Regions from separate parts of the Homo sapiens genome. Here regions 1, 2, 4, 5 and 6 are each linked to region 3. The links are contacts of gene promoters, found by promoter capture Hi-C in blood cells and fetal thymus (Javierre and others, 2016). All regions are on one chromosome and are shown on one strand. The core of a region is centred on a gene start or on the middle of the fragment in contact, and the rest is flanking DNA. Distances in the headings are between cores, read along the strand shown. Region 1 overlaps RHOBTB2 (Rho related BTB domain containing 2). Region 2 overlaps PEBP4 (phosphatidylethanolamine binding protein 4). Region 3 holds the start of PDLIM2 (PDZ and LIM domain 2). Region 4 has its middle 13 kb from the start of PEBP4. Region 5 overlaps POLR3D (RNA polymerase III subunit D). Region 6 overlaps PEBP4 (phosphatidylethanolamine binding protein 4).

Region 1 (2,700 bases), core at 1-2,500, 430 kb after region 3:
TTGGAAAGCAAGGGGGTTCTGCATTGGTGCTATTAGCATTGCCTGTCTGTCTCAGCTCCTGGTGTCCTGGAGCTGCGGCTGCCATGCTCTTGAAGCCTGGTTTTCCCCAGCTGGGAGCGGGTTTGTTCCGTGCCCCGAATCTTCTGGGTTCAGGAGGAGGCTCCGTGGCTCCCCTTGGGGCTTGTTCTCCCAGCTTCTTTCACCAGTCCTCCTGTGATGCTTCTTCTGGACAGATGTGACCTTCATCCTGGATGATGGCACCATCAGCGCCCACAAGCCCCTGTTGATTTCCAGCTGTGACTGGATGGCTGCCATGTTTGGGGGGCCATTTGTGGAGAGCTCCACCCGGGAGGTAAGGCTGAGGACACAAAGGGGGGAAGGAGGGAGTGAGACATTTGCACCCTTTACATCTGAGGCACTGCCACTCAGGGTACTTTCTTCACTGACTGTGTGCTAACCACAGGGTGATGGGCCCAAGAGAGGTTTATGAGGTGGTTCTTGGAGCTAAGGATTATACAATACACCAGGAAAGGGAATTACACTGACACCTCAACTTGAGAGTTTAGAAAGCACTTTCTGTTCATTATCTCATTAAATTCACACGCAACGTACACATGTGCCACTCCTGCCGTATATCTAGGAAAGGGAGCCCCTGAGAAGTTAAGTGACTTGTATGAAGTTGGAAGTAGAGTTAGGACTTGAACTCAGGACTTCCATTCCTTGGCTCTTTACTTTGTACCTTACTGCCTCCCTGACACACTTGAAACAACTGAATGCATCACTGTTTTAAAAGATAGGTTTTATTATTATTGAGGTGTAGAGAGGCCCACAGATTGCAAGATGGCTGTCATTGATAAGACAACTTGTTACAGATCCCAAGAAAAGGGGGCATGCCACAGCACCATGGCTGGGGTCACATGGGGAAGCTCTGGGGTCAATCAGGAGGCAGAGGGTTTCTGTGGGAGGGAATGGGCGAGGCAGGTTGAGCAGGTTTAGGATTAGCTGTTTGAATAATGTTAGCCGGCTCTGGGGCCTGGATGCTGTCTCTAGTTGTCTGTCACCTGGCTCTAGGGGGATTAGGGCAGGGGAACAGTGGCCTGGAGTGTGAGGGCCCATAGGGGAGGTAGTGGGCTGTGGGCTCTGGATTGGTTGGTTTGCATATGAAAGGCACACTTGCAGGCAACTCCTTCACTATCCCTAGGACTTGGCCAGCCCTGAGGGAGGCAGTCCCTATAGGGCCAGCAAGGCTTTAGTTGTCAAAGCAACAAAATACAGAAAATAGGTGTAGGGGGTGGCTTACACCTGTAATCCCAGCACTTTGAGGGGCTGAGGTGGGAGGATTGCCTGAGCCCAGGAGTTTGAGACCTGCCTGGGAAACACAGACACCATCTCTACAGAAAAAAAGAAAAAAAGAGAGAGAGAGAGAAAAGAAGGAAGGGAGGGAGGGAGGGAGGAAGGGAAGGAAAAGCATACTTAATAGAACCACCTGCCTCTCTAATCAGTGACCCTCTAGCTCTCACGATGCCACCACTTTCTCACTCACCTAGATTGGAAACTTAGGGTTGGAAGAAGCCTATCAATGTGTCCTTAGAAATATTCTCTTAGGTTTGGTCTCTTTTCCATTCCAAGCAGAGTAGCCTGGGCAGTAGCCCTTGGTGTGCTCTGAACTCCTGGACCTCAATTGCCCATCACTGAGTGTCGTCGAACCTTGTAGTTAACGAGGTTCGACTTTGTGCAGGCGCGTGGAGTTCTGAACGTCCACACCGTTTCCCCTACTGTTCTGTAACTGCTTCTGAGCGCAGGGACTGGGTCTTTTTCCTTCTGCCAAAAACCCTCTCAGCGCCAGTCTCTTGGGAAATGCTCACCAAATGCTTGAATGAAAAACAGAACCAAGCACGAGGCTGGGCTGCATCGCATCCCGTGATGTGGAATGTGCATTTTCTAAGATTTCTGGGAAGGAAGTACTTAAGGAAGGCTAAGTGGAAGCGTTGGGAGTTGGTCTCTGAAGTGGGAGTAGGATTTGGATATACAAAATGTGAGACTAGGAGCTCTCACAAGCCCCAGGGGCCTGCCAGCCCCGGGCACTTCTCGGTACTGTAGACGCCAGCTTTAAACTTCTAGCCAGTTCCCAGCACAGCCTGGAGAGCCTGATGAGAAGGCAGTTTGTGTTGCAGCGCTGCTCTCAAGAGATCCTGGAGGCCCAAAGCAGCAGCTCTGAGCAGACAGAAAGAAATCAGCTGCTGTGGGCCTTACTTATTCTGTATCCCACTTCTGTTCTGTGCAGGGATGGGAGGGACTGAGGTGTAGATTGAGGTGACCAGAAGGCCTCCTTCAAGCATCCCGCGAGCAAGAGCGGCTTCCAAAGGGTGCCAGTGAGTAGTATCTGGGTCCCTTTGGAAGAGTTTAGAAGCTGGACGCCATGGCTTGTGCCTATAGTCCCAGCTACTGAGGAGGCTGAGGCAGGAGGAATGCTTAAGACCAGGAGTTCAAGACCATCCTGGATGGCATAACAAGACGCTGTTTCTAAAAATAAACACATAAATGATAGTAGAGGCCTGTACTCTGGTGCTGTCAGCAAACTGGGGCTCAGCACAGGTTGTCGCTCTAGGGGTCAGGTGTTCTCAGGGTCTTCTCAGCAGATACACATGCAGCACAGGGAAGGCTGCCCGTCTGGGGGAGCCTGGGTGTGAGGGCCAGAGC
Region 2 (3,777 bases), core at 795-3,294, 310 kb after region 3:
GAGAACTGTGGAAATTGCAGAAGGTCCTCTTTGAGTCTTCAGATGAGTACAGATCAGCATGCGCATGTGAGAAAACTGAGTCCAAAGAAATAATTCCCTGAAAGAAACAGACAGAAAAGTCTACAGGGCTCACACAAGGCTGAGAATAAATTTGTATTCCCACCAGGCAGAGTAAAAATGCCACAGAATTCCTGGGGCAGCAGGGAGAGTATTCAGCAGTGGGGCAAAATTAGCCCTAGAAAAACGCTGCTCTTGTCCTATTTACCAAAGTTTAAAAGCAAGTTTGAGAAGGATCAGACTGCTTTCAGTGAGCCTAACCACATGCCAGATCATAGCTCAAGAATATTTATGAGATTATAATGACATTTCACACCTAATGAAGTAAAAATCCACAAGTCTGGCACCTAAAAAAATTACTAGACATGTAAAGAAGCAGGAAAATAGAAACCATAACAAGGACAAAAAACAATCAATTGAAATAGACTGGGAAATGATACAGACAATGGAATTAGTACACAAATATATTAAAACAGTTATTATAACTATATTCCATGTGTTCAAGAAGGTAGGGGAAGGCTTATATATTCCCAGAGACATAGAAAATATTTTTAAAGACCCAATTCAGATTTGAAGAGATAACAATTTCATTGTCTGTGATGAAGAGTACACTGGATGAGATTTAACAGAAGGTTAACTATACAGAATAAGATATTAGTGAACTTGAAGACACAGCAATAGAAACTATTCAAAATAAAACACAGAGAGAAAAAAGACTGAAAAAAACCCACCAGAATAGCATATCAGTGAGCTGTGGGACATCTTCAAGTAGCCAAATATACATGCAATAGGAGTCCCTAAAATTCCCTTTTAGGGAATATTAGAAAAAATATTAGAAGACATAATGGCTGAAAAATGTCTTAATTTGATGAAAACTGTAAACCCACAGATCCCAGAAGCCCAACCAAAGAAATGCCAAGCACAAGACACATGAGAAAACTACACCAAACACATCACAATCAAATTGCTTAAAACCAGTGAAGATGAGAGCACAGGTTACCATTAGCAAATGTGTCACTGGCAGCCCGCGGCATATAGTAGCAAAATAATCTTGATTATCAAGTGTGATTACCTAGAACAAAGTACCCATTGAAGATAAGAGTTTGGCGGAATTGCACGATAGATTATTATGTCAGAATGATGAATATAAAGATGTTGGAATAAGATGACTTCTTCTGCCAGAAGTGGGAAAAGTAAAGAAAAATGGTTAGAAGCTTGAGGTTTAAATTCTTGGCACAGCCATGCATAGTGGCTCACTCTATAATCCCAGCACTTTGGGAAGCCAAGGCAGATGGATGGCTTCAGCCCAGGAGTTCGAGACCAGCCCAGGCAACATGGTAAGACCCTGTCTCTACAAAAAATAAAAAATAAATAAAAAAAATTCCAAGCATAGTGGCATGTGCCTGTAGTCCCAGCTACTCAGGAGGCTGAGGTGGGAAGATTGCTTGATTCCAGGAGGTCAAGGCTGCAGTGAACCGTAATCATGCCACTGCACTCCAGCTTGGGCAACAGAGTGAGACCCTGTCTCTAAAAATAAAATAAAATAGTAATAAATTCTTGGCTCAAGGCTCAATCAGAAGAGCAAGGAACAGTTAAGACTATCCTGAAAGAATCTCCCACGGTTTGTAGTTTCAGGGCCAACAAAACTGAAATCAGAAGTGAAGTCTGACCCAGCAGGTTGTAGAATTACAACCTAAGTTAAGTTCACAGCCTCATCAGGTCTCTTATGGGAGATGGTGTTGACTGGGAAAGATGGAACCCTGTGAATGGGGATGCTGAATTCATATAACTGAGTCTTAGACCCTGCTGAGCCTCCCTTTCCAGCAGAAGCTGCCCCTTTTCCCCAGGTCCTGTCTTGCAAGAGAATCCTGATTCTCCCTGAGGTCGACACTTACCACCCCTGGCTGCTCCTGACCTATTCTAGAATCAGATTTCAGCATGGCCAAGGGAGACAAGCACAAAGTCTGATTCTGAAACAGTAGACTTTCACACCAAAGTAGGTGCCATTTGTTTTTTAATATTTATTGGCAGAAATCTGAGAAATGTATAGTAAGGTGCTGATCACGGAGGAAAGAAGATCATTTTCAATTGGGCCATATTGATCAATATGGATTCTGGATCCAAAGTACTGGCTGGATCATCTGGGTATGGTTCTGTTCACTCAGTGGGTTATCTGAAATGAAACCTGAACTGAATGGCATCCTATACTAAATAAAGCTAAGGTGACAGAAGTTCCTTGATATAAAGCAAGGAATCTTAATACCTGGAGAGGCATAATAATGTTGGGGTGGGCTTACACATGTGTTCCCCACATACCCTCCTTCACTCTGTCCCAGGAGAACATACTTTCTTCACAAGCATTTAGACATGCTTTGGTGAGGGGGACACCGGCATTCTGTTTTCCTTGGTTGTCTTCAGAATTTATCTTTGGTTTTTAGCAGTTTGATCATGACACATCTAGGTGGATTTTTTTAAAAATTCTGATTAAGGTTCTCTGAGTATCTTGGACTTGTGGTATGTTGCCTTTCTTTAACAAGTTCTTGGTCATTATCTCTTCAAATAGTTCTACTCTGCTCTCTTTTCTTAATGAGATCCCAACTATACATATGTTAGACCATTTTATGTTGTCTCACAATGCTTGGGTGCTCTGTTCTGTCCCCCAGCCTTCTTTTCTCTCTTTATATTTCTTTAGATCATTTCTGTTGCTCTATCTTCAAGTTCACTGATTTTTCCAGTTTATATGTTACGTCTAATTTGCTGAGAAGCTTAAGTTCCTGTTTCAGTAACCTGACTAGTTTTCCAAGTTTGTCGGAAGTTCTGCTTTTTTGGCCACATCCTTGAACCCAGCCTAGGTGGCATTGGCCCTGCTTCCCATGGGCAGGTTTCTTCATGCCAGCCTCTCTGCCTGTGCTCCCAGTTACTGCCTACCTACTGCCCCCTCTGCCCTGGGGCAGATTTGCTGTGTGGCATCAGACAGTTGCCTGAAAGTTGCTGGTATTGTGGTTGGAGAGATGAAACCATGTTCCCAAATCCCACATCCTTGCATCAAGTAAGAAAAGTGCCACTGGAACCTAGAATGATGTGGGAACCCAGAAGAAGAAGATGTCCTAGTCTGGGAGGAGAGACAGGGAATGGAGCTTGGACAATCACTGTCATAGCTGGAGTGTGATCTGATGAAGATCTGAACTAGAGAAATACATAGGCCACGGTAATACTAATTAATCAGGAATGGTTGAGTTTTGCTCCCGCTGACCTATCAATTCTTACTCCAATGGCTCCTTTAACCGATAGTTGCAGTGTTCAGTGGGGTATTATCCAGGCTCCAACGTGTTTGCTCAGAGCCATCCTCAGGCTAAGGGGAGTCTTCCCTGATCTCCCCTCCTCATCCCAGTGATGGGGTTCCTTCCACCTCACCTGCTAGGGGTTTCTTGAGGCTCACTCAGGCGCACTCCTACTCTCACTTTCCTGACATTTTGTGTTTCTGATTCAGCATTTTCTGGCTCTGGGTATCTGGAGAACCACGTTACCTATTTCATTTCTCATTTACCCCAGCAGTCCTTGGCCTCTTTATTACTGTTCAAGCTAAGGCTCAGCAGTGACACAGACTCTCCCATGCCTCGTTCAGCCCTTGGTAGAAACAGCATTACACAGAGGTTGCAAGGTGACAACTTATGATAAGGCAGAATTTTGAAGGTGTCAGGTGCCTCAACTATGTCATGA
Region 3 (3,883 bases), core at 1-2,500:
GTGAGCGCGCCCACCTGCGCCTCTCCGCGCGGCCCGCCCTCCCCGGCGCCGGGCTCCTCTCCGCGCCCCTGTCGGCGCGGAACCCTGGCCTCGTCCGCGGCCCAGCTCCCTGGAGCCTCGCATCAGCGGGGGCGCCCCCGCGAGCTGCGCTCTCCCCGGCCGGAGCGCTCCTCCTCCAGCCCCCAGCCCGCAGGGTACTTTGCCCTCGGAGCGAAGGAGGCTCCAGAACTGGTAGAGCCGGGCCATCGGGCTGGGCACCTCCCCGCGGCGCCCGCAGCGCGGAGTCCACTGACCGGCTCAAAGGTCTGGGAATCTCGGGGCGGCCGCGAGCCGGCCTCGGGGACTGGGGTGGGGGCGGTGCTGGGAACAGAGGCTAGGCCTGGGCCCAAGGGGAAGGCAGCCGGGGATGGAGCGGACAGACCGCTGGTGCTCTTGATAGATTCTCGCAGCACTTGCGTCCCCAGGGCAGCCCCAGGATGGGTGCTGGGCAGGGTGGTGCCCAGCCTGGCACCGCGGCTTCCTGCCTGGATTGGCTCCTGGCTCCAGAGCTAGAGGCTCAGGAAATCCCACAGGGGTCTGTCTGCAAGGGCACTTCCTTGCCCAGCGGAGGGGCTGTGGATGGGAGGCCTGTCACCCCGGCTGTCTGTCGGGCAGCATCAGGAATCTGGGGGTGGGTGTGTCCAGCTTGACAGATGAACCCTGGCCTCCTTGCCCTGGCAGCCGGCCCCTGGGGGAGGTGGGGAGCCCGGTCTTGCCCGTGTGATCCACTTTGCCAAGAACGAGGTGGGCAGCTAGGAGGCCCATGTGAAGACTCGGCCTCACCCCACCAGTCCTTCACCTGGCCAGTGACTTACACAGTCTGTACTGGTGCCAGCCTGTTCCTTGACCCGTCACTCCTGCTTCCTGAGCCCTGCTCTCCCTAGGCCACTCACCAGCCCTCCCCCAGAGTGGAGAGGAAGTACCGTGTGCTGTGGGTTTTGGGGACAGGAAGCAAGCGCTAGTGGGACTGAGCCCTGATGGTGGAGGAGGGGAGACTGAGGGGGTGCTGGCATCCCCTCCACTTGCCAGCCCCTGCCCCCCATGCTCCAGCAAGCCCCCTGCCTGGCAGCCTGGGCAGCCCCCTCCTGGGAGTCGCTCCCTGGGCTGAAGACTAAGGAAGGGAGAACCCAGAAGCATGGCTTCCCAGGGTGGGGGGAAGTGAAACCGGGCTGAGGGAGGGAGTTAGCCACTTCCTCTACCCACCCCAAAGCCCCTGAGTAGCTGCTCCGGGAGCTGTGGTGCCCTCTCCTTCTCCCTTTGGCTCCTCTCCTGCTGCCTTACAGTGCCCCCAGAGCCGGCTAGGGGCATGGACTTCACCTCCTGGTCCTCTCTTCCTCAGGTATGGCGTTGACGGTGGATGTGGCCGGGCCAGCGCCCTGGGGCTTCCGTATCACAGGGGGCAGGGATTTCCACACGCCCATCATGGTGACTAAGGTAAGGATGGTGGCTCAAAGAGATGAGAAGGTCCTGCCAGAAGCGAGGTCGGCCCTGTTCACCCCACTCTGCACAGATGGCTTGCTTTTTCTGTTCTGGAGCTAGGGATCTGCTGCTGCCTGGCGTGCTGGCTGTAAGGGAGCCGTGGCCCTTTGCCACGGGGATGTGGTGGCCACTTCAGGAACAGACCTTGGGAGTGAAAGGGAGCTGGGACCAGGACAGGGCCGGCTCTTGCCTCCCCAGTTGCTATCCCCACACTTGCAGGCAGCCATTTGGGGTGATTACTAGAACAAGAGCCCCGGAGTTCTTGGCAGTCTCCTCTTGACCTGGGCCCAGGCTGGGAACATTCACAGGAGGGCTGTGCAGGCAGCCACCTGCAAGGTGCGATTTGCACGGGCAAGGCTCTCTATCCAAAAGTATTTCCAAGCACAGTTCCTGAAATTCTGCCACTGCACATTCTTTGGGAGGCCCATTAGAATGCCAGTGTGGGGTGGGGGCTGCCACCTGCGCTCCTGGAGGGGATGGCTGATCAGCTGGGTGTCATGAGCAGGCAGAGGGACATGCAGGAGGGTGCAGGCCGGCCTGGGTCAAGCCAGCCTCTGTGTTTCTTGGGTAGCAGAGTGGGAAGTCCCTTCTCCAGCTGGGCCACGGTCTGAGCATGCCAGCTCCTCATCCCTACAGGTGGCCGAGCGGGGCAAAGCCAAGGACGCTGACCTCCGGCCTGGAGACATAATCGTGGCCATCAACGGGGAAAGCGCGGAGGGCATGCTGCATGCCGAGGCCCAGAGCAAGATCCGCCAGAGCCCCTCGCCCCTGCGGCTGCAGCTGGACCGGTAGGGCCTCCCGCTCTGCAGAGCCTGTGGCATTCCCCCTCCTCCACCACCCCACGTATTGAGCAGCCCTTGCTCCTGCCCATGGGCTAGAGCTCAGCCCTAAAGCGGCCTTCTTGGGCCCTCTCCACACCTTGGTGAGAAGGTCCTGGGCTCTGCTTCCTGCAGCAGGGTGGGCTGAGGGGTGTTCCCATGCCTGGTTGGGTAAAGGTGGGCGCCAGGCTGGGCGTGCAGTCACAGGCTGGGCAGGGCGAGCTGGCACCAGCCACCTTGAAGCCCGGGTTTGACTGGTTCCCAAGAGTGTGCAGGGCACAGGGCGTGGGCATGAAGTGGGTTGAAGAGGGGAACCTTCTGGGAAAGGTATGCCCGAGGCTGCATCCCCAGGACTCCTGCTTCCAACAGGGCATGGCCTTTGTTTAGTTCCCAGCTGGAAGTGAGGACTTGGGGGGCTCATTCCTCATAGAGGCTGTCTGTTCCTCCCCATCACTGAAGGCAGATGCCCGATCCTGGGTTACTCCTAGGGTTTTGAGCCTATAAGCCAAGGTGGGGCCAGGGTGGGGCCTGGAGGCCAAGCTATAGGGGGAACAGGTGGCTCCCTGGGGTGGGGCATTGCAGTGAGTCACAGATCGGGAATGCCAGGAGATCCCCGAGCCAGGAGAGCCCTCTGCACGGGCCTAGAACCTGAGTCAGACACCTCTTGCATCCTGGCCACCCCCACATTGTCCTGCTCTCTTCAGCCCTACCAAGCCCCTCCTTCTCCAACTGCCCTGCCCTGTGGTGTGGCAGAAGCCGGCTCCCTTCATGTCATTCAGGTCCCTGGGTGTTTGCAGGAGCGGGACCCCAAGAAGGAGGGTAGAGAGCACCTCATGGCATCTGGGAATGGGGCAGAAAGCTACAGGAGGCTGAGGGTCTGGCAGCGGAAGGGCAGGAGCCTCGGACTGTCTCTTCCTCTGGGGTTCTCTGGAGGGACCAGGGCTCGGGGGAGGTAGGCCTGGGCTGTAAGTCAGGCCTCTGGTTCTGCACCAGGCAAGCCCAGACTCCAGTCTCTTAATTTTTTTTTTTTTTTTTTTTTTGAGACAGAGTCTCGCTCTGTTGCCAGGCTGGAGTGCAGTAGCGTGATCTCGGCTCACTGCCACCTCTGCCTCCCGGGTTCAAGAGAGTCTCCTGACTCAGCCTCCTGAGTACCTGGGACTACAGGCGCGTGCCACCACGCCCAGCTAATTTTTGTATTTTTAGTAGAGATGGGGTTTCACCACGTTGGCCAGGATGGTCTCGATCTCCTGACCTCGTGATCCACTTGCCTCAGCCTCCCAAAGTGCTGGGATTACAGGTATTACACCGCGCCCGGCCCAGTCTCCTTACTTTTGCTGACGTGATGCCCACCCCCCCCCCCGCCCCCATCTCCCGCCTCCTACCCTCCCAGGTGACCTCTCTGGTATTCAGAAGCCCTGGGGCAGGAAGCAGGGCTCCAGGCTGGAGCCAGAGACTGAGCTCTCCTCACCCTGATCCCATGGCTCTCCCAGGAAGCGGAGGGTCCTGTTGCCCTACATCTCTAGAGGCAGCCTCACGGCCAGGAATGT
Region 4 (3,850 bases), core at 832-3,331, 360 kb after region 3:
TCTGCCTTCTGCTCTAGTTTTCTGTGCACGTACTTCATTCTGTGAGGGCCCCATTTGTCTCTGCATTCCCCACAGCACTATGAACATAGCAGATGCTTAATAAATCGTTACATAAATAAGCACGCACATATAAAAACCGTATGCTGTAAAGGAACTATTCTGACCTTTGGTTGTCCTACTTAGAGACAGAGAAAGAATTCCAAAGTCACCCAACATGCACTTGGGCCATCTTTTGTTATCAACTCTTTGTTGCTTTTTATGTACCTTTCATTTCAGATGACCAATTTGAAAATTGTCTTGAAATGTAAAAGTATAAAAATATAATTTCTTTTGTTTTTTTCTCAGGGAGTGGGGCTTACTTCTAAATGAACAATAAGAATTACATCAAACTTCCCATCAGAAACCAGGCAAGCAACAAGAGAATGGAGTGAAATATTTTAAAAAGTGTTAAAACTTCCATCAACCTAGAATCTGTATCCAGGGGAATTTTTCTTCAAAGGTGGAGAGGATATGAAGACAAAGAAAAACTGAGAGAAGATTTTGCCCTTACACCTGCCTTGCATGAAATGTTAAAAGAAGCCCTTCAATGAAAAGGAAAATGAAATCTTGGCTCTACATAAAGGAAGAACAATGAAGATGGACTAAATGGAAGTAAAGGAAAATATTTTACCTTTATTATTCTTAATTGGCCTTATAGATAACTGTTTGTTTAAAATAGTTAAGAACAAGAATGTCTCAAGTGATTATGGCTTATTGTTAAGTTCATGAATGCTAGCAATGTCTAAGAAATGGGAGGAAGGAATGAGGAATGCTCTGTTACAGGGTATCTGCACTTGCTGTTGTTTTAAGAGATGTTCGCTTTCCTTCTACCAAGCAGAAGGCAGAGGAATTCATGGTGGCAATGATGGGGCTGGCAAAGAGAGCTCCAGGGCTGGATTTTCCCAACAATTTTATTACCCAGGAGTCAGGAGAGTGTCTGTGAGATAAACCCAGCTCTGACCCCTTCCCTCACCCCTCCATTTATCCAAAGGTCCTGCTAGACCTCGGGCCAGAGGCTGGGGGCCAGGACCTTCCCACTCCAGGGACACAAATTCTTCTTTTAGGTAGCCCCAGCTTGTTGGTCTCAGCAATCAACAGTTGACTTAATAAGCCCATTTCATTAACAGATGCACATTGCATCTATTAATGAATCACTTCACCCATGGAATGGCAGGCTCCAGAGGGGCTATGAAATGGTGGTGCCTCAGGCAATCACCTGCCGTCATGTCACCCTTGAAAGGTTGAATGTTTTGTCCATCTGGTGGAGGTGAGAATTGAACTTAAAGCCTAGTGAAGCTATGTATTTACCTTGCCCCTCTTTGCAGGGACAGAGTCAATCTCTGGTTCCCCCTATATTTCTCAGGATGGGAGGAAATGGGGATCCTTCTTCCTATATCATGGAAGGGAGAATGAGGACCTCACAAAGGAAAGAAACTCACTACATCTGTCAGAAGTAAGGCCTGCCTGAAATCAGTGAGGCTCATCGCAGCCCAAAATTCAGGCAGTGAGAAATTCACCAAAGTGGCCTTTCTGAGGAGAATTAGAGAAATGTTTGAGGCTCATAGATAGGCACCTAGAAACGCCATGAAGAAAGTCACAAATAATGCCTCAAATGATGTGCTCAAATCACGCTAGAGTGAAAAAATTGGAAACACCACCTTTACCATGAATTTCTCTTTTTTTTTTTTTTTCGAGACGGAGTCTTGCTCTGTCACCCAGGCTGGAGTGCAGCAGCACAATCATGGCTCACAGCAAGCTCCACCTCCCGGGTTCATGCCATTCTCCTGCATCAGCCTCCCGAGCAGCTGGGACTACAGGTGACCACCACCACGCCTGGTTAATTTTTTTGTATTTTCAGTAGAGACGGGGTTTCACCATGTTAGCCAGGATGGTCTTGATCTCCTGACCTCGTGATCTGCCTGCCTTGGCCTCCCAAAGTGCTGGGATTATAGGCGTGAGCCACCACGGCCAGCCTTTACCACGAATTTCTAATAGCTCCCTAGGCCAAGGTGTTTTTTCTCTCCTCTGTCTCCTCTCTCGTAGCAAATTCCTACCGCACACAAACAGGGAAGAAGAGCCCTTGTCACTTGTCCAGAACAGTGTGGGAGCTGTTGGGTGCTGGCTGTGGGAAGGTACACACCTTGACAGGTTTCTGGCCTGGAGAACGAGGGGAGAAAGTTCCCTCCAGGGTGCCCCTCAGTTTGGGCCCTTAAGGTAATCAGAGCCAGCGGATGTTGAGAGTTTGAGAGGTTCAGTAAGGTTCCTAGAGCCACAGGACAGGAGGGAGCTGTTGGTGGTTGGGGAGACAGTTGGAGAAAGTTCCAGGGGAGTTCCAGGGAGGAGCCGATATGTAGGGCAGGAGAGAATAGGAAAAAAAAGAATGGGTGGGTTTGCCAGCATTCCTCCTTCCAAGGATTCTAAGGAAAAGAGTGGAAACTGCGGAGACAATTCTCTTACCGTTTCTCCTTTCAAGATGCACAGAGAGTCAGGCAGAAGGGACACTAGAGTGCAGGAAAAGAAGGCCGCAGAGACAGGTGCAGAAGGTTGGAGGGAGGAACCACTGAGACCAGCGTCCGTGGAAAGATGTCCAACGTTTGACCACGGAGAGCAACAGGCCCTCAGCCACAGACAGGAGAGATCGGGATTGACAACTATCTTCAGAGCTCCCAGTCTGCGGGCATTGATTGACTGATTAAGGCGGAGTTTCACTCCTGTTGTCCAGGCTGGAGTGCAATGGCTCGATCTGGGCTCACTGCAAGCTGTGCCTCCCGGGTTCAAGCGATTCTCATGCCTCAGCCTCCTGAGAAGCTGGTATTACAGGCACCCACCACCATGCCCAGCTAATTTTTTTTGTAGTTTTAGTAGAGGCGGGGTTTCACCACATTGGCCAGTCTGGTCTCAAACCCCTGACCTCAGGTGATCCACTGGCCCTGGCCTCCCAAAGTGCTGTGATTATAGGTGTGAGCCACCCACCGCACCTGGCCATCACGGGGATTTAGAATCATCCCCTTCCCCAACAAGTGTGGCCTGGAGCCTGCAGAATAATGGAGACCACCACCACCTGGCTCAGACCCAGGTCTTCCAGGCTGGCTCACACTTGGGTAAGGTTCTGCCAATCAGGTAACTAAGCCCAGGGCAAGTACGTGGTTTTCAGGTCCTGGGTTTCCTGCTGTGTTTTAAATGACCACACCTGGAACCATCTCCTTACTTTCTTTCTAGAGAATTCCTCCCAGGAAAATCAACAAATCAATGAGAAGTCAAACACTTACCCAGTAGTTTTGCACAGTAGAGCACCTGAGGAATTCGTGAAAAACACCAATGCCTGGCCCCACCCCAGGTGAATTAGACCAGAATTTCGGAGGGTGAAGCCTAGACATGGAGGGTTTCAAATGCTTCCCAGGTGACTCGCATATGCAGCCAGGCTGGGGAGTCCTTGTATTCAATCTAGATAAATAGCAGGCATGCGGCAGGTGCTGAAGGTGCAAAGATGAACAAGGTGAGGATCCCGCTCTTGATAAACTCACAGCTTAGAAGGGAGATGAGCATCCAAACAAACAAACAGCCAGGTGTGGTGGCTCAAACCTGTAATCCCAACATAATGGGAGGCTGAGGCAGGAGGATTGCTTGAATCAAGGAGTTCAAGACCAGCCTGGGCAACATAGTGAGAACCCCCACCACCCCACCCCCCACCACCCCCACCATCTCTACAAAAAGAAAGAAAGAAAGAAAGAAAAAAATTAGCCATGTGTGGTAGTGCACACCTTGAGGCTGAGGAGGGAGGAATGCTTGAGCCTGGGAGGTAGAGGCTACA
Region 5 (3,972 bases), core at 1-2,500, 320 kb before region 3:
TTCAAGACCAGCCTGGGCAACATGGTGAAACCTTGTCTCTGAAAAATAAATAATACACACCCACATGCACACACATCCAGTTCTTCCATGTTAATGAGTATGTTGTGTTTCACATACTTCTGAATTAGCCGAAGGAATTAAAGGTAGCATCTTTTAATCCTCAGACTGCCCTGCGTGGTCCGATTGAATTGGGCAGTCAGCACTAGGCTCTTCAAAGGGAAACAGGCTTCTTTCTTAGGACGGTGCACAGTGAAAGAGTGGCACACACGCTGTTCATCCAGTGCTCCAACCCCCAGTCCTGGTGTCAGATACTTCTACATTTGGGGCATTTCCCCTTGAGATGGCTGTGGCTAGCGACACATGATGTGAACACCTCTCTTGGATTGTGGTTCGGCCGCACAAGGCCCCATCAGAGTTCTACAGGTGGAGTGTGGGGCCCAGAAGGGGCTCAGGTCTTAGGGGTGTCATCTGAAAAAACAGAGATGGTGATGGGACACCAGTTCTAGGAGCCCTCTGCATGGCCACTTTCTGCCTCAGCTCTTCTAAAGCATTTCTTCTGTTCCCTTCCATTGGGGTAACCACTGATCTGTCTTCCCAAAAACTGAGTCAGAAGTTGGACTTTGTTACTTGGCTCATCTACATTTAAGATATAGTCAGAAAAAAAATGCAGTCTTTACATCTTAAGAAAGCTTACATGGGCCAGGCGCAGTGGCTCACACCTGTAATCCCAGCACTTTGGGAGGCCAAGGTGGGCGGATCACCTGAGGTCAGGAGTTCGAGACCAGCCTCAACATGGAGAAACCCCGTCTCTAGTAAAAATACAAAATTAGCTGGGCGTGGTGGTGCATGCCTGTAATCCCAGCTACTTGGGAGGCTGAGGCAGGAGAATTGCTTGAACCTGGGAGGCGGAGGTTGCGGTGAGCCAAGATCACGCCATTGCACTCCAGCCTGGGCAACAAGAGTGAAACTCCATCTCAGAAAAAAAAAAAAAAAAATAGAAAGCTTACATGAAAGAAAAAGAAAAATGCAGTCTTGATCACTGTTGGCCTGGAGACTTTATCTTGTGTGTTTTCCAGGGCGTGCATGAGGTTTCACTGGACAAGTAGAAACCATTCTAGGTATTCAGAAAGAGTTAATACAAGAAGAGAAGTTTATAGACTCGTTGGAAGGCTGGAGGAGTGAGCCATAGGTTAAGCATCCAGGAATCAGCACCCCCTAGAACAGATGGTGAGGGAGCTACACCCTCTGCCACAATCAGGAGGGTGGAGACTCAAGCTCGACTGAGTTCCGGAACACAACACACTGCCACAGCTGCCAGCCAGGGGTGAGGGAATCCCACAGCCCCAGCTGCCTCTGGGGAACCATACAGCTGTAGCTGGACCCTGGCACACCTGAAGAAAGTGCCTGCTGTGTGCTAGGCACCCTGCAGGAGTTAGGAAAGCAGTGGTTAGGGGCTGTGTCCTGCTGGAGGAGCCTGCACTCTAGTGAGGGAGACAGGATAAGCTTAAGGAAGGACGTTAAAAGGTGACAAGAGTTTGGGAACTTGCAGGGAGCAGGGGATTCTGGGTGGTGGCGGGCATGTTGCAGCAAGTAGGGTAGGTCTCCTTGAGAGGGTATCGTTTGAGGAAGTGAACCAGCGGGATCAGATGCAGGTGGGGAGAGTGCTCTGGGCTGAGTGAAGAGTAAGACAGAGACTGGCTGGAGCTGAGGGAGTGAGAGGGGTGGGACCTGGCCCTGGAGGGCTTTTAGGCCATGGTAGGGACCTTGGCTTTATTCTTTTTTTTTTTTTTTTTTTTTTTTTTAGACGGAGTCTCGCTATGTTGCCCAGGCTGGAGTGCAGTGGCGTGATCTTGGCTCACTGCAACCCCCACCTCCCAGGTTCAAGTGATTCTCGTGCCTCAGCCTCCTGAGTAGCTGGGATTACAGGCACCCGCTACCAAGCCCAGCTAATTTTTGTATTTTTAGTAGAGACAGGGTTTCACCAGGTTGGCCAGGCTGGTCTCAAATGCCTAACCTCAGGTGATCCACCCGCCTCGGCCTCCCAAAGTGTTCGAATTACAGGCGTGAGCCACCACACCCAGCCCGGCTTTATTCTTAAAGTGACCTGGTGAGCCAGCTGGTGTGGAGATGAGGCGGGAAGCAGGGCTGATGGAGTCCCTGGACAGTGGATGGCAGTGGCTTGGCCAGGCCGCTAACAGCAGGGGCACTGGGAAGTGATTGGATTCTAGATACTGATTTCAAGGGTAGCACACACGTGATCTGCTGATAGATTCCATGTCAGGTGTGAGAGGGAGGAGAGTCAAGCTCATCCACAGCTCTGGCAGCGGAAGACGGCCAAAGTGAAGAAGGTGGCCTCAAGTTTACCTCCACCTTCCAAACCTCAACTGGTAAAACCTCATGCATGCCCAGAATGCTAGCACAAGAGATTTAGGGAAATGTGGGTATTTTGCTTTCTGGCCCTGCAGTTCAGGTTCCACCTTATAAAATGGGAGTGGCGTGGGTGGTGGGCGCCACCAGCCATATTCACGGGAGTTAGCATAAGGGTTCACAGTTTGAGTGAAGCTTCCTGAGACTGTGCCGTGCTGCCAACACAGTTCTCTCCGATTCATTCCCTCAAAACAGTATATTCCCAATGAAAGCACGACCAGTACTTAAACTAGCCATGTTCAGTGTGGCTCTCAGACCTTTCCCCAGGGCAAGATGATCACAAGAATTCCTTTAGGAACGTCTCTTAAATTGTACAACTAAAGTTTAATGGTTATATTAGAATCCGTCTTCGTACTATGAAAATTCACCCAACTGATCTCCCATTTCTGGGATATTTAGATTTTTTCTAGTTTTTCATCGTTTAAAAAATGATGCAGCCTGGGGTGGTGGCTCATGTCTATAATCCTAGCAGTTTGGGAGGCCAAGGCTGGTGGATCACTTGAGCTCAGGAGTTTGAGACCAGCCTGGGCAACATGGTGAAACCCCATCTCTACCAAAAATATAAAACTTAGCCAGGCATGGTGGCTTGCTCCTGTACTCCCAGCTACTTGGGGGGCTGAAGTGGGAGGATTGCATGAGCCCAGAAGTGGGAGGTTGCAGTGAGCTGAGACGAGATCGCACCACTGCACTCTAGCCTGGGTGACAGTGAGAACTTGTCTCAAAAAATAAATAAATAAATAAAATCCATTAAATTGCCAGTGTCCTCAATTATTTCCTTAGGAGTCTCTATTTAAAATGGTTTTCCTGACCAGACTGGGCAATGTAGCAAGACCTGGTCTCTAGAAAAAAAAAATTTTTTTTAATTAACTGGGCGTGGTGATATGAGGTTATATAGCGCCAGCTACTCTGAAGGCTGACGTGCGAGGATCAGTTGAGCCCAGGAGTTTGTTAAGTCCAATCCTATGAGATTTTTAAGGATTTTGATAGATTTTTCCCTCCAGAATGTTTGCATCTATTCACATGTGCATCAGCAGTGCATTTGTAGTTAAATGTGTAGTTAACGTTCTGTTTTTAAAACTATACAAATGTTGGGCCAGGCGCCATGGTTCCTGCCTGTAATCCCAGCACTTGGGAGGCCAAGGTGGGTGGATCACTTGAGGCCAGGAGTTTGAGACCAGCCTGGCCAAAATGGTGAAACCCTATCACTACAAAAAATAAAAAATTAGCTGGGCCCATGGTGGCACGCGCCTGTAATCCCAGCTACTCAGGTAACTGAGGCCCAAGAATTGCCTGAACCAGAGAATTGCTTGAAGCCAGGAGGCGGAGGTTGCAGTGAGCTGAGATCACGCCACTACACTCCAGCCTGGGGGACAGCGTGAAACTGTGTCTCAAAAAAAATATATATATATATATACACACACACACACACACACACACACACGTACATGTGTGTGTGCATGTGTGCAAATGTTGGGCCAGGCAGCGTGGTTCCTGCCTGTAATCCCAGCACTTTGGGAGGCCAAGGTGGGCGGATCACCTGAGGTC
Region 6 (4,075 bases), core at 657-3,156, 340 kb after region 3:
TCATGTTTGTCAGAGCGCCAGGGGAGAAACGCTTCCTCTTACTTCCACACCTCTCTCGCTCAGCCATAGCTGGCACGGGAGCCAGCCACGTTTTCCTGTGTTACTTTGCCTTCTCATGAACCTGCCTGACTTCCTCTCTTTCTCTGCCTGCTTCCCCACCCACCCCCCAGCTCACACCCCACCCCTAGGGGGAGGAGAGAGTCCTGCTGCCCTGGGTTCACTAGGTTTAGCAGCTTTCCTTCAACAGATGCTGAAAGGGCCGACAGTTTGGCTGACACAGCTCATAGCTCACACTCCAGGAGATGCTCTCCCACATGTCATTCATTCATTCATTCATTCATGCATTCATGCATTCATGCATTCACCTGTTCACTCTCTCACCTAGTCACCCAGTCAGCCAGCATGGCATCTGAGGTGCTGGTGGGGCCCACGGGTGACTCAAAGAAAGACAACACATAGTCTTTCTCTCCTAACTTACAAAGTGCTTGAAGCTTTGAGAGACAGGAATGAGCAACTACAGCACAAGACACAGGGAAGTCAAAACCCAGTTTAGAGGGTAGGAACATTTTAAAAGCACAGAGAAAGAAAAGATCAGCCAGGGATGTAGGTGGAGCCCAGAGGGAGGCAGTCAGGGAAGGCTTCCTAGAGGAGGAAGCATTGTGACGGGAGCAGGGTCCAAAGACGCCAAGGATGGGGAAGTGGCCAATGCCAGAATATGGAGGTGGGAAGCTCTATGGTGGGCACAGAGGCACTGCTGCACCCCTCTTTCCAGGGCTTTGGAGTTTGCTGGGGGCGGGGGAGGGGGGGGTGTTCCCAGGCATGTCCAATGGCAGTCACTGCTTTGGTGGCATTGCTTCAGTCACCTTGGAAGCAATGCACCATCCCCACATAGCAGTCACCAACTCGTGCCCTTCTCCATCAGGCCCAGAAGAAATACCTTCATGCTCTTCTCTGTCCTAAACACTCAGGCTCCCCGCACCCTTTTCTTGAGGGACCCAGGTAGCACTTGCTCCTCCAGCCTCACCAGTCATGCCCTCTCCCTTAAGGGAAGCTCCAACTACCACCTTCCCTAGGAAGAACTATCCTTCCTGCCCACCCCCTTCCATTCTAACCAGGGAAAGCTTCCCTTCGGCCAGCCCACCCCTGCCTGTGCCAGCGCCCCCTGGTGTCTCCCTTAGAGCCCTTGCCAGTGGCCCACTGGCCAGGCCCATGGGCTCTGGAGTTGGGCAGACCTGGCTTTGACTCTGGCTCTGGCACCTTTCAGCTCTGTACTTGGCCAGATTACTCACTTCCATAGGACCTGCCTTGCATTTCCTACCTAACATCCTTTCACCCTTATCTGATCAATCACACCTTGACTTGCATTCAGGGCAACCATCCTCCTCTACTCTCAGTCCTTGTAGATTAAGGGGAGCTGTAGAGGGTCACTGCTAGGTTCAGGGATAGGCACAAGACCAAAGCGAGACCAATCCTGTGACTTTTAATGGATGGAAAACCCTATTTCCACTGGGGTTGACAAATTGGTCAAACACAAACCTAAGGCTGTTGGGGCCATCTTTGTCACAAGGGAAGACTCTATTTACAAATGAAAACAGCACAGAAAAAAACAATCAAGAGACAGATTCCTGGTGACACTGAGCACCTGGATCCAGCCTCGCCTGAAGTTATCCCTGGAGTTTTCAGTTTTGTGAACCAATGTTTCCCCCTCTTTTCTGGCTTAAGCCGATTTGAGTTGACTTTTTGTCACATGCCATTAATAGTCTTGATGAAAGAAATACTTAACTTGGAGACTTAAATGAAAGGTCCGAGTAGTGCCCAGGAATGGAATAAGGTGGCACTCACTGACCACTTTGGCAAATCTCTCTGAATCTGCCTTCTCATAGGTCTGTTACATTTCCATAAACTATAGTTCCATAGTAGTAGAATACTATGTTTTTCTTCTTCCCACAGCTTCGATCAAATCTTCCTTTGTAAAATCTTCACTCTCCCAGGCTTTCTTGACCACAGCTCTGTGTTCCTCATAAATCTCTATGTTCCACATCCGTTTTCTCCCCACCCCACCCCCGGGCTGAGGCAGGATGGGTTTAACAGTACAAGACTTCAGGATGTGGCGTGGGTGATGTCGTCTTTGTGTAATGTGCTGATAAGCCAGGGCAACGAAACCAAATCAAACCAAAGACTTTCCCAACAGGCTTCAAATCCCTGCTCTGGAGGACACCAGGTGCTCAGAAAAGTCTACACTGCCATCTAGTGGATGTCTGCAGCATCATCAGCACGCGGAAGGGAGCCCTTTGGGGAGAATTCCCTTGGGACTGTCCCTGGCCTGTGAAAGCATCCGACTGACCCTCACTACATAAGGGACAAACCCCAAGACAAGTGAATGGATGGTGAAGCCGAGAGTCCTGTCCCGCAGAGTAGCATATACTCCTCTAAAAGATTGGGTTCCTGCCCGGCCTCTGCACCTCCCATCCCAGGAGTTAGAATCAGCAGGCTTCCTTTCTCTGCTCCTCTTGGCTGTCCACAGGTGTGCCCAGTCCAAGGGTTTCCAGGGAAGAGGGCTGACGCTGTGTGCACATGGGTGTGCATGCAAGTGTGTGTGTGCACATGTGCACACATGTGCACGTGTGCACTTTATTGCTCGTCTTCCCAAAGGAAAGGGTGTTTGTCGTGTTTGCAAACAAGACAACCTAGCAAAGCTTCATGACAACAGCCTCATAACTTGCGAGCCATATCACAATCTATTTGCTCTCTGATAGTGAAAAACACTTCAAAGAGAAGAGTCTATTCCCCGCATTGGAGTAACTTGTGTGCTGCCGCCCTCTGGAGCTTGTTGTCCTACTGGGCTTAGCTGACTGCATGAGGCCTAACCAAGGCAGCACTGAGGGGAAGGAAGAACCCCTTGTGGCCCTTCCCTGCCACCCTGCACAGAAAGGACCAGAAGGTCAGCCTTGGTGTGTGTGCTTGGTCACATCCCGGCCACGACCCTTCCATCTCCAGGCATTTGTGACCCAAGTCCTGCCTAGATTGACAGCAGCACCTCCTTCTAAAACACAGCAGAAAAGAGGCCAGTCTCCACCATTGACACTCTGCGGGCTCAGTCTGGCCCAGGAGTCAAGAAATAAAGAAGCGGAGACCAGAAGGCCAGATCAGCTTCCCCAAAACACACTCTGGCTGCTTAGGGCAGCAGCAGACCCATTTCCCACTTCTATGACTCTTCCCCAGGCTTTCCAGACCCCTAAATGTAATAGCACTAATCACTGCCCAGTAAAATAGTTATTTCCAGTTCCTAAAATGCTTTGTTCTTCTTTTACACAACTTTGGGCAAAAGAAGAGCGTGTCTCATGTTGTGACAACAAAGCGTCAAGATGCACTGACCTCTGCCTGTTTAGGCAACTTGGGAAGCTCTGTCTTGGTAAATACCAGCTTCTCTCCAGCCCAGAAGCCATCTGAAGGCCCAGGCACCCCGCGCCTTGAGAGAGGACTCCTCCCATACCACGCCTTCTTCCACTTATCTGCCAACTCCAAAGCACACACCAGCTGGTCTCCACCAGGCTTGGGGTCCCAGATCTCAGGGGCAGCCAAGGAGCTCCCAGAGCAGGGGAGCAGGAAAAGGCCTGGGCAGAATGGCCTCAACCATCACCAAAGTTTCCAGTCTGCAGCCCTCCCACCAGCCCCCAGCCTTCTCCTCAAGTCCACTCTAAGGAAGGCACAACTTTATGGCAACAGCCATCTGCAGCCACCAGACCCAACCCAGATGGCTCTGCACGCAGCTTCAAGTCACCCAGATGAGCAAGCCTGGAGGAACATCAAGACCCCCAACTGTCCCCCCGCTTTAACACAGCCCTGCTCACTCACGTCCACGGCCCCCGGGAACTTGACTATCGGCTCCATCCAGGAGGTGATCTTCTGTCTGTAGTTGTTACAATCAGGAACAACCTTGCAGCCAATGTTCCCCAACTCTGGGTAGAAAACTTCAAGGCCCCTATGAAGAGAGAGGGGAGGTTGCCCTGTGTCAGGGTTTTAAGGGAGCCTGGGGTTCCCAAGGCTTCAGTCTAGCACTATTGGGAATGTAAAG

Evidence for each region. Contacts are between HindIII fragments. The CHiCAGO score rates a contact against its expected background, and 5 or more counts as called.
Region 1: a fragment that was not itself captured here is called in contact with the fragment with the promoter of PDLIM2 in region 3 in 2 of 17 cell types (naive B cells and total B cells); the score reaches 7.2 in naive B cells.
Region 2: a contact is called between a fragment that was not itself captured here and the fragment with the promoter of PDLIM2 in region 3, in 4 of 17 cell types (M1 macrophages, M0 macrophages, erythroblasts and 1 more). The highest score is 6.7, in M1 macrophages.
Region 4: a fragment that was not itself captured here is called in contact with the fragment with the promoter of PDLIM2 in region 3 in 1 of 17 cell types (M1 macrophages); the score reaches 6.3 in M1 macrophages.
Region 5: a fragment that was not itself captured here is called in contact with the fragment with the promoter of PDLIM2 in region 3 in 2 of 17 cell types (endothelial precursors and erythroblasts); the score reaches 6.4 in endothelial precursors.
Region 6: a contact is called between a fragment that was not itself captured here and the fragment with the promoter of PDLIM2 in region 3, in 15 of 17 cell types (endothelial precursors, activated CD4 T cells, megakaryocytes and 12 more). The highest score is 21.8, in endothelial precursors.

Annotation. Positions count from the first base shown.
Region 1 is chr8:23,007,760-23,010,459 of GRCh38, forward strand. RHOBTB2 (Rho related BTB domain containing 2) reads left to right here. Exons shown (of 10, transcript NM_015178.3): 6 at 234-352. Among named protein-coding and RNA genes, the nearest start is that of RHOBTB2-AS1, 9.3 kb to the left of the region's middle. RefSeq lists an enhancer at 914-1,499. The HindIII fragment of the contact is 4,621 bases long and covers 1-2,700 here.
Region 2 is chr8:22,892,997-22,896,773 of GRCh38, forward strand. All of the region lies in intron 3 of PEBP4 (phosphatidylethanolamine binding protein 4), which reads right to left. It overlaps LOC124901907 (a long non-coding RNA gene), which reads right to left. Exons shown (of 2, transcript XR_007060854.1): 2 at 2,055-3,684. Among named protein-coding and RNA genes, the nearest start is that of PEBP4-AS1, 17 kb to the left of the region's middle. The HindIII fragment of the contact is 1,551 bases long and covers 1,270-2,820 here.
Region 3 is chr8:22,579,225-22,583,107 of GRCh38, forward strand. PDLIM2 (PDZ and LIM domain 2) reads left to right here and starts at 1,251. Exons shown (of 9, transcript NM_001368120.1): 1 at 1,251-1,473; 2 at 2,155-2,306. The coding sequence starts at 1,381. RefSeq lists silencers at 38-107, 208-297, 308-467, 1,198-1,287, 2,852-3,146 and an enhancer at 2,485-3,177. The HindIII fragment of the contact is 20,077 bases long and covers 1-3,883 here.
Region 4 is chr8:22,938,776-22,942,625 of GRCh38, forward strand. It overlaps a transcript of PEBP4 not described here. Among named protein-coding and RNA genes, the nearest start is that of PEBP4, 13 kb to the left of the region's middle. The HindIII fragment of the contact is 7,835 bases long and covers 1-3,850 here.
Region 5 is chr8:22,254,439-22,258,410 of GRCh38, forward strand. POLR3D (RNA polymerase III subunit D) reads left to right here. Exons shown (of 9, transcript NM_001722.3): 9 at 1-163. It overlaps PIWIL2-DT (PIWIL2 divergent transcript), which reads right to left. Exons shown (of 2, transcript NR_134293.1): 2 at 138-468. Among named protein-coding and RNA genes, the nearest start is that of POLR3D, 11 kb to the left of the region's middle. The HindIII fragment of the contact is 501 bases long and covers 1,001-1,501 here.
Region 6 is chr8:22,916,329-22,920,403 of GRCh38, forward strand. PEBP4 (phosphatidylethanolamine binding protein 4) reads right to left here. Exons shown (of 7, transcript NM_144962.3): 3 at 3,856-3,982. Among named protein-coding and RNA genes, the nearest start is that of PEBP4, 9.5 kb to the right of the region's middle. RefSeq lists an enhancer at 3,218-4,075. The HindIII fragment of the contact is 1,575 bases long and covers 1,120-2,694 here.